Linked DNA regions of Homo sapiens: regions 2 and 3 are each linked to region 1. Evidence: promoter capture Hi-C in 16 types of primary human blood cells and fetal thymus (Javierre and others, 2016). All regions are on one chromosome and are shown on one strand. The core of a region is centred on a gene start or on the middle of the fragment in contact, and the rest is flanking DNA. Distances in the headings are between cores, read along the strand shown.

The links. The method cuts DNA at HindIII sites, captures the fragments that hold promoters and counts their contacts. A CHiCAGO score of 5 or more calls a contact.
Region 2: a contact is called between a fragment that was not itself captured here and the fragment with the promoter of ANXA9 in region 1, in 3 of 17 cell types (fetal thymus, naive CD8 T cells and total B cells). The highest score is 9.0, in fetal thymus.
Region 3: a fragment that was not itself captured here is called in contact with the fragment with the promoter of ANXA9 in region 1 in 1 of 17 cell types (total B cells); the score reaches 5.9 in total B cells.

Annotation. Positions count from the first base shown.
Region 1 is chr1:150,979,181-150,983,886 of GRCh38, forward strand. It overlaps ANXA9 (annexin A9), which reads left to right and starts at 3,112. Exons shown (of 14, transcript NM_003568.3): 1 at 3,112-3,199; 2 at 3,307-3,403; 3 at 3,910-4,000; 4 at 4,158-4,254. The coding sequence starts at 3,926. It overlaps LOC105371438 (a long non-coding RNA gene), which reads right to left and starts at 2,325. Exons shown (of 3, transcript XR_922135.3): 1 at 2,241-2,325; 2 at 2,024-2,133; 3 at 778-906. RefSeq lists an enhancer at 3,636-4,497. The HindIII fragment of the contact is 18,662 bases long and covers 1,913-4,706 here.
Region 2 is chr1:150,465,816-150,470,321 of GRCh38, forward strand. The region is part of intron 10 of RPRD2 (regulation of nuclear pre-mRNA domain containing 2); the gene reads left to right. Among named protein-coding and RNA genes, the nearest start is that of TARS2, 19 kb to the right of the region's middle. The HindIII fragment of the contact is 7,293 bases long and covers 1-4,506 here.
Region 3 is chr1:150,380,524-150,384,945 of GRCh38, forward strand. All of the region lies in intron 1 of RPRD2 (regulation of nuclear pre-mRNA domain containing 2), which reads left to right. Among named protein-coding and RNA genes, the nearest start is that of RPRD2, 19 kb to the left of the region's middle. The HindIII fragment of the contact is 188 bases long and covers 1,415-1,602 here.

The sequences.
Region 1 (4,706 bases), core at 1,862-4,361:
TCACAGGCAAGGACTTCGCTTCTGCCATGTGACTGAGACTCTGTTGGACTTCTCCAAATTCAGAGTTCAGCCTGGCATGCCGGCCAGGAGCCCCTTGGAGAGATTCGGCGTGAGGAAACAGGAGGCCTCACGCTTCCTTCGGTTCTCCCTAAATCTGCTGGGCAGGTAGCCAGAAGAAACTCTGAAGGGTACAGAAAGCCGAGGGCCAGGGGGACCCCGGCTGCGGAGCTGCAGTACCGTGTTTACCCAGCCTAACTGCGGTCACCCAGTCTCCTGCATGTGTCTGAGGTCAGCCTCGGGGGCTCCCCTGAGTAGGTATCTACCTGAGGCTCTTCCCCTGATGCTACCTGCATACCAATTCCACCCAGGAACCTGGCGTCCTCAGGAGGCTGCACTTCCCAAGTGGGCTGAGACAGCCCCTTAATATGTGGGGCTGGAGCCAGAGACCTCAAGGGGCCACTAGGGGGCTCGAGACTCTCAGTGGCTGCTGACGCCCTCTTGTGGCCATTTTGGGGATTGGCCAGAAAAGTTTCAGAAGCGAGCCAAGATCGGAATTCTTAAGGAGGTAAGTAATAACAACAGTAACAGTTACCATATAACAATACTTATCGTTATATATTTGATAACATTGTGACATTTCTACTTAACAGCGCTGTGCCCAGAACTCTTCTAAGTGCTTTATATGCACTGTAGTTATTTAATTCTCACAACAACCTATAACATAAACACTATTACTTGTCTGTTGATGATGAGGAAACTGAGCACAGAATAGTTGCCCAAGGTCACACAGAAGACCAGAATCCCGACTCTGAGAAGTCTGGCTCCAGAAGCTTTGCTTTTAGCCACCACGCTGAGACTGAGTTCCATTTTGGGGTTGTCAGGTGAAATACAGGACACACTGTTAAACTATAATTTCAGATAAACAAAAAATAATAATTACAGGCGGTGGCTCACGCCTGTAATCCCAGCACTTTGGGAGTCCAAGGCAGGTGGATCACGAGGTCAGGAGTTCGAGACCAGCCTGGCCAACATGGTGAAACCCTATCTCTACTAAGAATACAAAAAATTAGCCAGGCATGATGGCAGGCGCCTATAATCCCAGCTACTCGGGAGGCGGAGGCAGGAGAATCGCTTGAACCCGGGAGGTGGAGCTTGCAGTGAGCCAACATAATGCCACTGCACTCCAGCCTGGGCAACAGAGAGAGACTCCGCCTCAAAAAAAAAAATGTTAGTATATTTAATGAAATATTTGGGTCATACTTGTACCAACAAATGATTCCTCATTTACGTGAAATTCTGATTAAGCTGCATGTCCTGTATATTTATTTATTTAATCTAATACCCCTACTTTACAGGGCACTTTTCTCTGCCACATGCAATTACACAGATTACTTTTTTTTTTTTTTTTTTTTTTTGAGACGGAGTCTCACTCTGTCGCCCAGGCTGTGGAGTGCAGTGGCGCCATCTCAGCTCACTGCAACCTCTGCCTCCCAGGTTCAAGTGATTCTCCTGCCTCAGCCTCCCGAGTAGCTGGGATTACAGGCATGCGCCGCCATGCCCGGCTAATTTTTTGTATTTTTAGTAGAGACGGGGTTTCACTGTGTAAGCCAAGGCTGGTCTCGATCTCCTGCCTCATGATCCACCCGCCTCGGCCTCACAAAGTGCTGGGATTACAGGCATGAGCCACCGTGCCTGGCCACATTACCTTATTTATTTATTTATTTATTTATTTATTTTTATGAGTTCAATAGTTTTTGGGGACAAGGTGGTGTTTGGTTACATGGATAAGTTCTTTAGTGGACACATTACTTCATTTAATCATCCCAGGAAACCTGTCCTCGGAGGCCCCAGCATGTCCCACAGCCTCCGTCTCTCTCAATCCTCCCATTTAGAGAGCTGAAAGGACTAGCGAAGCTTACAGAACATAGGTGGCAGAGCTGGATATTGAACCCTCATTCTCCAGTTCTGACACAGGTGCATGTTTTCCTTTTAACAGGAGAGAAAAGTGAGGAGCAGTGATTACCGCCACAGAAATATCCTTTCATGGCGTGTCCTCCGGCATGGTCTACTCAGTGTGGTGGAGCCACTGCAGGTCCCTCCTCCAGGGATGTAGGAATGCCAGTGAAGGCCTTCCTGAGTTGGGAGAGAGGCAGAGGAGTGAGTGGAGGCAGGGCTGTAGCTTCTGTGCCCCGCCCCTACCCAGGCTCTCCAGGGAGGCAGGAAAGAGGCTGTGTTTAGACCTGAGGGAGCCAGCTGTGAGGCTGGAGCAGTTGCTGCATGGCGGGGCGGGGGCTCCACAGGGCTGTTCACCTGCTGCTCTGTGCAGAGACAGCCTCAAGTCCAGCTGCTGGGGTTGCATCACCTGCAGCTAAAACAGCCACAGGGCCCAGGCTGCCAAAAGGCAACAGAAGCAATCTAAGAAACCAGGCAAGGGAGCCTCCCCCATCTCCCTGTTGCCTTTTGGGAGCATAGAGCTTCCCTCTGAAGGTAACACCCTTTGCATTTTTCTCTCTTGACTCTGTTCATCAACTTCCACTCCCAAATACTTGTGCCCTTCCTTCTCCACAGATATACACAATCCCTGGGCACTCTCCACCTAGGTCAGCTGGCTCTAGTAAGGCAGCAGTCAAGGGAGTTTCTGGGCTGGGACCCCCTCTGGGGTGCAGGCTGGGGTGCCCTGCTGGTATGTGCCCCAACAGGTTTTTCCCTATCAGCCTTGAAATCAGCCTGCAGCCTGTCTGACCTGCCCCCCAGGGAGCTGGAGCCAGAGGCAGAGCCAGGTCAGAAGCTGGGGCAGAGCCAGGTCAGAAGCTGGACTTTGAGACTAGGTCTCTGTGGTCCCACCTGGACCCACAGGGAAGGCAGTGCATAAAAGCCTCCTGTGTTTGAGGCTGAGCCGCTGAGAGGCTGAGTGGAGTTCACTCACATGGATTGAGGCCCAGTTCCTGGGAGAAGAGATGCTGGGCAGGAAGGTGTCTGCATGTGGGACTCTGTACAGCCCGGTCCTCTCCCACGTCTGGGAGGGGCCAGAGTCAGACAACTGCTGGGTTCGTCCCTAAGAGAGGTCATCTGACTGGCTGTTCAGCCTAGGCTGCACACACCCCCACTTTCCTCTACCAGGCCACACCGGAGGCAGTGCTCACACAGGCAAGCTACCAGGCCACAACAACGACACCCACCTCACCTCTGGCACCTCTGAGTAAGTACTGGGCCCACGGCCCCATGCCAGGAGGGCTTGTTGATTGCTTGGGGGAGGGAAAAATGAGTTTTCCTTTTCCAACATGAGAGTGCCTCCTTTCTGTCCAGGCATCCACGTACTTGCAAGAACTCTTGCTCACATCAGCTAAGAGATTGCACCTGCTGACCTAGAGATTCCGGCCTGTGCTCCTGTGCTGCTGAGCAGGTAGGCAGCTGTACAGGCAGGAATTGAGGGTTGCTTGTCAGCTGGGGCTGCCGGTGGGGGAAGATGCTATTTCGAGTTGTCTTCCACTCTGCGTGGTTAATCCTGCCACCTCACCTCAGCTCCCCTGCACTGCCCAGGAGACCCCAGCCAGGCCCAGGAAGGAGGGCCATAGACCTCAGAAGGGAGGCATCTACCGCGGACCAAGGCCTGAGGAGCTTTGGTGCTGACCCTGGCATCAGGGAGGGTTGGCGCCTGGTCCAGGAGCATTCCGCATCAATCCCCACTTCCTAAAGGAGTGGGGAGAGGTGGGGAAGGTGGGGGCTCCCCTCTTACCTCACCATTTCAGCTCCATTTCTGGCTCCAAGCCTAAGCAGGTTGATCTTTTTTTCTGCAGCAAGGAAAGGAACAGGTGACTGGAACCCAGGGTCCAGGGTCTCGGGGGGGTCATAAGGAGTCCCTGAAGGGCCAGGAAATTCAGCTCTGTGGGCTCCTGTTTCCTTCCCCAGGGCAACCAGTAGCACCATGTCTGTGACTGGCGGGAAGATGGCACCGTCCCTCACCCAGGAGATCCTCAGCCACCTGGGCCTGGCCAGCAAGGTAGGGGCTGTTGGGATTTTAGAGATCACTTTTAGTATCTCAGCTCGGGCTGTGAGAGGATGGGAGGCAGGAAAGTGGAGGACAGGCCCTGAGGTTATGCTGAGGAGGTGTAGGCAGCCTGGCCCTGGCCCTTGCCAACTACCCTGTGCTCCCACAGACTGCAGCGTGGGGGACCCTGGGCACCCTCAGGACCTTCTTGAACTTCAGCGTGGACAAGGATGCGCAGAGGCTACTGAGGGCCATTACTGGCCAAGGTGAGCCCCTTTCCCCCGGCACTTGAGACTGCCTTTTAGAGCCAATCTGTAGACCAAGGAGGAGCCAGGAAGGAGGAACTAGTGATGTTGGAGAAATGTTTGTGGAATGCCTTCATTCTTGTATGTCAGGCGCCACAGTAGGTGTGTCAAACCCATTCTCACAACACCCCTGTGAGGCAAGGCTTATTATTTCCATTTTCCAGATGAGGAAACTGGGGCTCAGGGAGATTAAGAGGCTTGCCCAAGGTCACTCAGCTCATGACGGAGGTGGTATTCTCATCTAGGTCAGCCGATCCCCCCAAGTCGTATTTTTTTTTAACCACCACACCAGGCCACCTTTGCCTTGGTCTGGGTCAGATTTGCATGCTGTTTTGACATTTTATTTGCAACTTCTTTTGAGATAAAATGGAAGTGGGGGTGATATAGCCCCTGCTCCTTTCCTTCCCAGCCCT
Region 2 (4,506 bases), core at 1-2,500, 520 kb before region 1:
TGGGAGGCTGAGGCGGGCAGATCACCTAAGGTCAGCAGTTCAAGACCAGCCTGGCCAACCAGGTGAAATAACATCTCTACTAAAAATATGAAAATTAGCCAGGTGTGGTGACACACACCTGTAGTGTGCTGAGATCGCAGTAAGCCGGAATCACGCTACTGCACTCCAGCCTGGACGACAGAGCAAGACTCAGTCCAAAAAAAAAAAAAAAAAAAAAAATTTTTTTATGACGCTTCAAGAACATAGTGAAACCCTGTCTCTACAACGGAATTAAAAATTAGCGCCGGGCGCGGTGGCTCACGCCTGTAATCCCAGCACTTTGGGAGGCTGAGGCAGGCGGATCATGAGTTCAGGAGATCGATACCATCCTGGCTAACACAGTGAAACCCCGACTCTACTAAAAATACAAAAAATTAGCCGGGCGTGGTGGCGGGCACCTGTAGTCTTGGCTACTTGGAAGGCTGAGGCAGGAGAATGGTGTGAACCCAGGAGGTGGAGGTTGCAGTGAGCCAAGATTGCCCCACTACACTCCAGCCTGGGCAAAAGAGCAAGACTCTGTCTCAAAAAAAAAAAAAAAAAAAAAATTAGCTGGGCATAGTGGTGCATGCCTGTAGTTCCAGCTACTCAGGGGGCTAAGGCAGGAGGATCACTTGAGCCCAGGAGTTCAAGGCTGCAGTACGCTGTGGTCACCCCACTGTACTCCAACCTAAGTGATGAGACCCTGCCTCAAAAAAAAAAAAAAAAAAATTTCTGAGACATGAATATATCTTTTTTTGTCCTAATGTTTTATAGAGGCTTCATTATTTATTATTTTATTTATTATTTTATTAGAGTCTTAGATGTAGTATTTTTGTTTTCACCTACCTATAATCTCTCTCATTTGACCCTTTCTGTTCAGCTTTACTAATTATGTTTTGTGCATGACACTGCCTGTTTCTAACCTTTTTTCATAAATCTTTCCTACTCTCTACTCTCTTATGCTCCAGATACCAATGAAATCCTTTTTAAGTACCGTAGTATAATTATGAAATGAATTACAAATACCAGGGCAATATATTCAGTGTAGTGATTTACTCTATATCAGTAGTCTCAACCAAAGGCCTCCAGGGAGGACACTTGGCAATATTTGGAGACCTTTTTAGTTGTCTCAACTGGGGTAATGGTAGGGGTGCTACTGCCTCTAGTGAGTAGAGGCCAGGAGGATGCTCCTAAATATCCTACAATGTGTGAGACAGCCCCAACAATAAAGAATTATCTAGCCCAAAGTGTCAGTAGTGCTGAGGTTGAGAAACCCTGCTCTCTATCAAAGGAGTGGTGTAAAACAGTTTCCTAAACTGTTATGTAAGTGGATCATTCAAGCATATTATAGTGAACTTTGTCTGGAGGTGCAGAAGAATTTTGTTACACAGAACTAAATAGTATTAAGTAATAATCCACAGCCCCTATCTATTGGCATCAGCAATAAAGAATTGATGATGACTGCAGCACATGTTGTACTACTAATATCAGGGACAATTTGAGAGTTTGACATGTTTATGCTTTCTCCCTTTTTATTTTTATTTGTTTGTTTGTTTTTGAGACGGGGACTTGCTCTGTTGCCCAGGCTGGAGTGCAGTGGTGTGATCTCGGCTCACTGCAACCTCTGCCTCTCGGGTTCAAGTGATTCTCTTGCCTCAGCCTCTCGAGTAGCTGGTATTACAGGCTCACACCACCATGCCCGGCTAATTTTTGTATTTTTAGTAGACACGGGGTTTCGCCATGTTGGCCAGGCTGGTCTCGAACTCCTGACCTCACGTGATCCACCTGCCTCGACCTCCCAAAGTGCTGGGATTACAGGTGTGAACCACCGTGCCTGGCCGATGTGAAATTTCTGATGAGGCAAAATTTGAACAGAACTAGGTTCCTTATGGAATGTGGAATTCTCTTTGACTTTTAAAAGGATTGTATCTAGCAAGTTAAATAGATGTATTTCCTCGAAGACTGTTAATGAAATCCCAGAACTTTGTTCTGATTGTGTCATCCACAGCCCTAGGTATTGACAGATTTATAACACAAAAGAGAGACTTCAGGCCCGGTGTGGTGGGTCACACCTGTAATTCCAGCACTTTGGGGACGGGTGGATCACCTGAGGTCAGGAGTTCAAGACCAGCCTGGCCAACAGGGTAAACCTGTCTTTCCAAAAAAAAATACAAAAAAATTAGCTGGGCGTGGTGGCTCACAGCTGTAACCCCAACTACTTGGGAGGCTGAGGTAGGAGAATCGCTTGAACCCGGAAGGCAGAGGTTGCAGTGAGCCAGCCTGGGCGACGAGCAAAACTCTGTCTCAAAAAAAGAGAAACTTCAGTGGGCAAAGGAGCAGAGTATGACTTGTTATGATTAAAGAGCAAACTTTTGGCTGGGCGCAGTGGCTCATGCCTGTAATCCTAACACTTTGGGAGGCCACGATGGGAGGATCACTTGAGGCCAGGAGTTTGAGACCAGCCTGGTCAATATAGCAAAACCCCTATCTCTATTGTTTTTAAGAATTTTTAAAAATAATTAAAAAAAAAAAAGATTGGAGAACAGTAATATTTAGTGGTGAGAGACAATTTTACCTATTACCAGAAATCTGAGTAGTATATCTATCTTAAAAAGATGTTCTTTTGAAGAAGTTATCCCAAAATATCTGAAAAATATGCTGAAATATCTTCTAAAAATCATATTACATTATTATATATCACATTCTAGTGTTTGAGGACTTCTGGGTTTTGTGAGAACAGTGATTACTAAGAATTAAATCAGGCTGGGCATGGTGGCTCACGCCTGTAATCTCAGCACTTTGGGAGGCTGAAGTGGGACAATCACTTGAGCCCAAGATTTTGAGATCAGCCTGCGCAACATGGTGAGACCTTGTCTCTACTAAAAATAAAAAAGTTAGCTGGGCATAGTGATGTACACCTGTGGTCCCAGCTACTCAGGAAGCTAAGGCAGATAAATCTTTTGAGCCCAAGAGGTTGAGGTTACAGTGAGCTATGATCGCACCACTGCACTCCAGCCTGGGTGACAGAGCAAGAGCCTGTCTCTTGAAAAAAAAAAAGGAAACTATTAGTAGGGATGAATTATGTGGCTAGGGAACTTTTTTTGGAATGAAACATGCCGATTTTTTTTTTTCTTCAGAAGGATCATAACTAAAGTAAACATTATTTCAGTTGTTTGGATATTACTGAATATTGGATAACAATAAAGACCATCCAACATTATTTAGAAATAAATGGCTTTAAAATGTTACAAGGATGGAGGGGACTTGAAATTCTTTAGGCCAAATCTGTTAGAATATGGGTTAAAATTGAAATTTTGAAGAAATGTTAATTGAAATATCACATGAAGTATTTTCTTTAATCATATAATTACTAAGGAACAATGTTAGTGTATTCAGTGACTAAAAGCTATAAATTTGGGTGAAATGTATATTAAAAATTTTTTTAATTAATTTATTTTTAAATACAGAGACTCACTTTGCCACCCAGGCTGGTGTGCAGTGGCAGAGTCATAGTTAGTTTACTGTAACCTTGAACTGGGCACAAGTGATTCTCCAGCCTCAGCCTCCTGAGTAGCTAGGACTACAGGCATGCACCATCATGCCCAGCTGATTTTTAAATTTTTTTTAGAGACAGAGTCTCTCTGTGTTTCCCAGGCTGGTCTCAAACTCCTGGCCTCAAGCCATCCTCCTGCCTCTGCTGCCCAAAATGCTAGGATTACAGGCATGAGCCACCGTGCCCAGCCAAAAGTCTTCATTTGTGACCAGAAATTGGGTAAATTTTTAAAAATATGATTGAATTTATAGAACCTTCTGTTATCTTTTTGTCAAATATTTTTCTAAAAAATTTTCTACAGGAGCAGTTTGCTTTGTTGAACTTCAGCCTTTGCCCCAAAGAATTCTTTCTCAGTGCTTCTGAGAAAGTTTTGACTGTCAGTGAACACAGTTAAATTCCATCATTGTCAATCTGGACTAAATAATCCTTGGATTTTCCACACTATAAAATGGGGATTGTGTGTTTTCTTGTGAAAGGACCAGTGTCCCTGGTGGTCTGTCTTTGTAAGTCTTTGTGGTGTATGTTTGTTATAGCTACATTTTACAACCAAAACGGATGGTTGAAAGCATTGTTTTTCAAAAAGTAACAACAGTCTACCAAGAGGTGCTTCTTGAAAAAGGTGTTTGCTGTTCAGATAAGTTTCTGAAATTTGCATTTGCCTGTCTCCCGCTTGAAAATAACAATGTATATTAACTTATTAGAGATAATAAGTTTGAAGGTTGAAGGTTGGTTTGAAGGTTGGACAGGAAAGGTAGAACAGATCTGTTTGCATTTAGAGAAACACTTCCACAGATCAAACATTAAGAAATACTGGCTTAAAGTGTTGTTTTAAGAATAACTTTGCCTCCTTTCTTTTCCTGCTTTGCCTAACTTAAACTATGAATGATTCTGACATTAAAATCTCCCCCTTCCTGTTGCCTTTTATTGTGCCATGT
Region 3 (4,422 bases), core at 259-2,758, 600 kb before region 1:
TTTTCTAGTAGAGATGAGGTTTTGCTATTAGCCAGGCTGGCCTTGAACTTCTGACCTCAGGTGATCCACCTGCCTCAGCCTCCCAAAGTGCTGGGATTAAGGCGTGAGCCACCACACCCGGCTCCTATTTTATTTTATTTTTATTTTTTTGGGACGGAGTCTCTCTCTGTCGCCAGGCTGGAGTGCAATGGCGTGCTGTCGGCTCACTGCAACCTCTGCCTCCTGGGTTCAAGCGATTCTCCTGCCTCAGCCTCCCGAGTAGCTGGGATTACAGGTGCTCGCTACCACGTCCAGCTAACTTTTTTGTATTTTTAGTAGAGACGGGGTTTCACCATGTTGGCCAGGATGGTCTCTATCTCTTGACCTTGTGATCTGCCCGGCTTGGCCTCCCAAAGTGCTGGGATTACAGGCGTGAAGCACGCCTGGCCTTTATTTTCTTTATGGCTTTTCTCATTATAAGATACTGCCTTGTTTATTTATTTGCTTATTTATTGAGACACATGGCCCCCCTCACCCCCAAAAAGAATGTAAACTGCTAACAACAGATTATTTGTTTTGTTCACCACTGCATCCTCAGCACCTAGAAGAAGGCATGGAACATAGAAAGTGCTGTAATTGTCAGGGTGTGCTGGCTTATGCCTGTAATCCCAGCGCTATGGTAGGCCAAGGTGGAAAGATTGCTTGAGTCCAGGAGTTGGAGACCAGCCTGGGCAACATAGTGAGACCCCCATCTCTACAAAAAAAAAAAAATAGGTAGACATGGTGGCGCGTACCTGCAGTCCTAGCTACTCAGGAGCCTGAGGTGGGAGGATTGCTTGAGCCTCAGTGGTTGAGGCTACACTGAATTGTGATTGTGCCACTGCACTCCAGCCTGGAAAACAGCAAGACCCTGGCTCCAAAAACACAAAAGTGCTTAATCAATGAATCTTCCTTAAGTGTGACCCCAGACCACACGTTGAGAACTGCTGCAATAGGACACAATTTTTTTTTTTTTTTTTTGAGACAGGGTCTTGCTCTATCGCCCAGGCTGGAGTGCAGTGGCGTGATCTCAGCTCATTGCAAGCTCTGCCTCCTGGGTTCATGCCATTCTCCTGCCTCAGTCTCCCGAGTAGCTGAGACTACAGGCGCCCACCACTGCGCCTGGCTAATTTTTTGTATTTTTAGTAGAGACGGGGTTTCACCGTGTCAGCCAGGATGGTCTCGATCTCCTAACCTCGTGATCCGCCCGCCTTAGCCTCCCAAAGTGCTGGGATTACAGACGTGAGCCACCGCGCCCGGCCACAGGACACAATGTTTTTGTTAGATTTATGTATGTAGGGAGACATACTGTATTGTACTGTTGTATGTTGGTTAGTTGGTAAAGAACATGGGCTTCGATCTCAAATAGACATTATGGTTGCTACTAACCTCTGAAAGCTTTTAAATAGGGATAATAATTGTATAGCTCACCTTATATGATTGTTGGAATTAAATAAGATGCTTCATATGAAGTGTTTGGCAAACTACCTGACATTTAGAAAATTCAGCAAATGATAACTTGTCATTTAAAATGCAGTTATGATATACAGTTATTATAACGTTTTATGCAGGCCTGTCTGCATAAGCTTTTTAAATTCTTCCGATTAATCCTGCGTACTCTATGTGAAATGTTTATTAAGGTTAATAATGTAAAGGAGTGGACATGGCTTTTTTTGAGCCCTTTCTTATTAATATTAGCAAATAGCAAAAGAACATATAATTTGGAAGCTGTTTTCCTATTTTGATTATTTCAAGGACCTATTCATATAGCAACATCTTGTAGTTCTAGAAATTCATTGAGAACTTAAGAATTTTTTATGTTTTTATAGCTTTTTTGTTTGTTAATTTGTTTGTTTGTTTTGAGACAGAGTTTGGCTCTGTTGCCCAGGCTGGAGTGCAATGGCGATCTCGGCTCTGCCTCCCGGATTCAAGTGATCCTCTTGAGTAGCTGGGATTACAGGCACCCATCACCATGCCCGGCTAATTTTTGTATTTTTAGTAGAGACGGGGTTTCATCATGTTGGCCATGTTGGTCTTGAACTCCTGACCTCAGGCAATCTGCCTGCCTCAGTCACCCAAAGTGCTGGGATTACAGGCGTGAGCCACTGCACCTGGCCTATAGCTATTGTGCTAATATAAATGCATCTTGTTGGGTGCGGTGGTACTTGCCTATAGTCCCAGCTACTTGGGAGGCTGAAATGGGAGGATCACTTAAGGCCAGGTGTTTGAGGCCACAGTGCACCCTGATCATGCCTGTTAATAGCCACTGAACTCCAGCCTGGTCAACATAGGAAGACACCTTTCTAGTTTTTAAAAATAAATGAATAAGAGATAAGGTTTCACCACGTTGCCCAGGCTGGTCTAGAACTGCTGGGCTCAAGCAATCTGCCCACCTCAGCCTCCCAAAGATGCCAGAATTACAGGAGTGAGCCACTGTGCCCGGCTGGGATTTTTTATTTTTATTTTTTTGAAACAGAGTCTCACTGTGTCACCCAGTCTGGGGTGCAGTGGTGCGATCATGGCTCACTGCAGCCTTGACATCCCGGACTCAGTTGATCTTTCCCATCTCAGCCTCCTGAGGTGCTAGGACTATGGGTGCAGGCCACCATGGTCAGCTAACTATTAAAATTTTTTGTAGAGATGATGTCTTGCTATGTTGCCCAGGCTGGTCTCGAACTCCTGGACTCAAGCTATCCTCTTGCCTTGACCTCCCAAAGTGCTAGGATTACAGGTGTGAGCCACGAGACCTGGCCTCAAATAAGAGGTTTTTTTTTTTTTTTTTTTTGGTGACGGAGTCTTGCTCTGTTGCCTAGGCTGGAGTGCAGTGCAGTGGCGCAATCTTGGCTCACTGCAACCTCCACCTCTCAGGTTCAAGCGATTCTCCTGCCTCAGCCTCCTGAGTAGCTGGGATTACAGATGCGCGTGCCACCACGCCCAGCTAATTTTTGTATTTTTAGTACAGACGGGGTTTTGCCGTGTTGGTCAGGCTGGTCTTGAACTCCTGACCTCAGGTGATCCACCTGCCTCGGCCTCCCAACTTGCTGGGATTACAGGTGTGAGCCACCGTGCCCAGCCAAAGAAGAGATTTTAAAAGGACATCAGTATTCTTGGTGTCACTGGATTTTTAAAAATAAATAATAGAAACAAGGAGTATAAAACAATTTCACTTTAAGAAGACTTAAAAAACCTGATAATAGAAAAGTGAAGAGCTTTTGAAATTCATTCATAGGACATCCCCACACATGCATGCTATTTTTAGTATCAACTAGGATAAGAATTCACTTCTGTCCTCTTAGGCTTCTCAGATTGCCATATGTAGCACATATGCATCAACTGACAAATGTGATAAGATATGGAGAAAATATACCATACTATAGTAGTGAACAAAAATAACAGTACAAATTTGTACTTTGTGCAACAGAATTTCCCAAAAAGTGGTGATAGTTTAGGGTTTCACTGTCAAAGTTTAGGAACTACCAAATTAAAGTTAAACCTGCTTTCATGCTGCTGGACTTTAGTACCCTTAATACAAAGACCTATGAGTTTCTGGAAGGGGTGGGTAGGATATTCAGCATTTTCCAAACTTATTTGACCATGGAATCCCTTTCGTTTTTAGCCATCTCATGTGACTATTGTTTCCTGGAACGTGCTTGGGGAAAACTTTGGTAATGTAAGAGTTTCTGGGAAAATCCTAGTTGCAGAGCAGGGAGTACCAATTTATATTTGTATACAGTAAGAAAGGCTTCATGGAGGAAACGGTTTTTCAAAAACTATGTGAAACAGGTGAAAGAAGACATCCGATATATAAGCAAAAGTGTGAAAGAATCAGAGAGGAGTCATAACCAGAAGGCACGCATGCATAGCTAAGTGAGAATGGAAAAGACAGAAGGAATAAAAGGCATCATCATCATTATTATTATTATTATTATTATTATTATTATTATTATTATTAGGGATGGAGCTCTTGTTGCCCAGGCTGGAGTGCAGTGGCACGATCTCTGCTCACTGCCACCTCCGCCTCCTGGGTTCAAGCAGTTCTCCTGCCTCGGCCTCCAAGTAGTTGGGATTACAGGCGCCTGCCACCACGCCTGGCTAATTTGTGTGTGTGTGTGTGTGTGTGTGTGTGTGTGTGTGTGTGTGTTTTTAGTAGAGACCAGGTTTCACCCTGTTGGCCAAGCTGGTCTTGAACTCCTGACCCCAGGTGACCCACCTGCCTCGGCCTCCCAAAGTGGTGGGATTACAGGCGTGAGCCACTGCACCCAGCCAAAAGGCATGATTTTTAAGACATTAAGAGTTGTGGTAGGGGAATATATTTAAAAGAAGGTAACTAGCTGAGTGTGGTGGTGGCGTGTGAAGTCCCAGCTAGTTGGGAGACTAAAGCAGAAAAATCACTCAGCCCAGGAG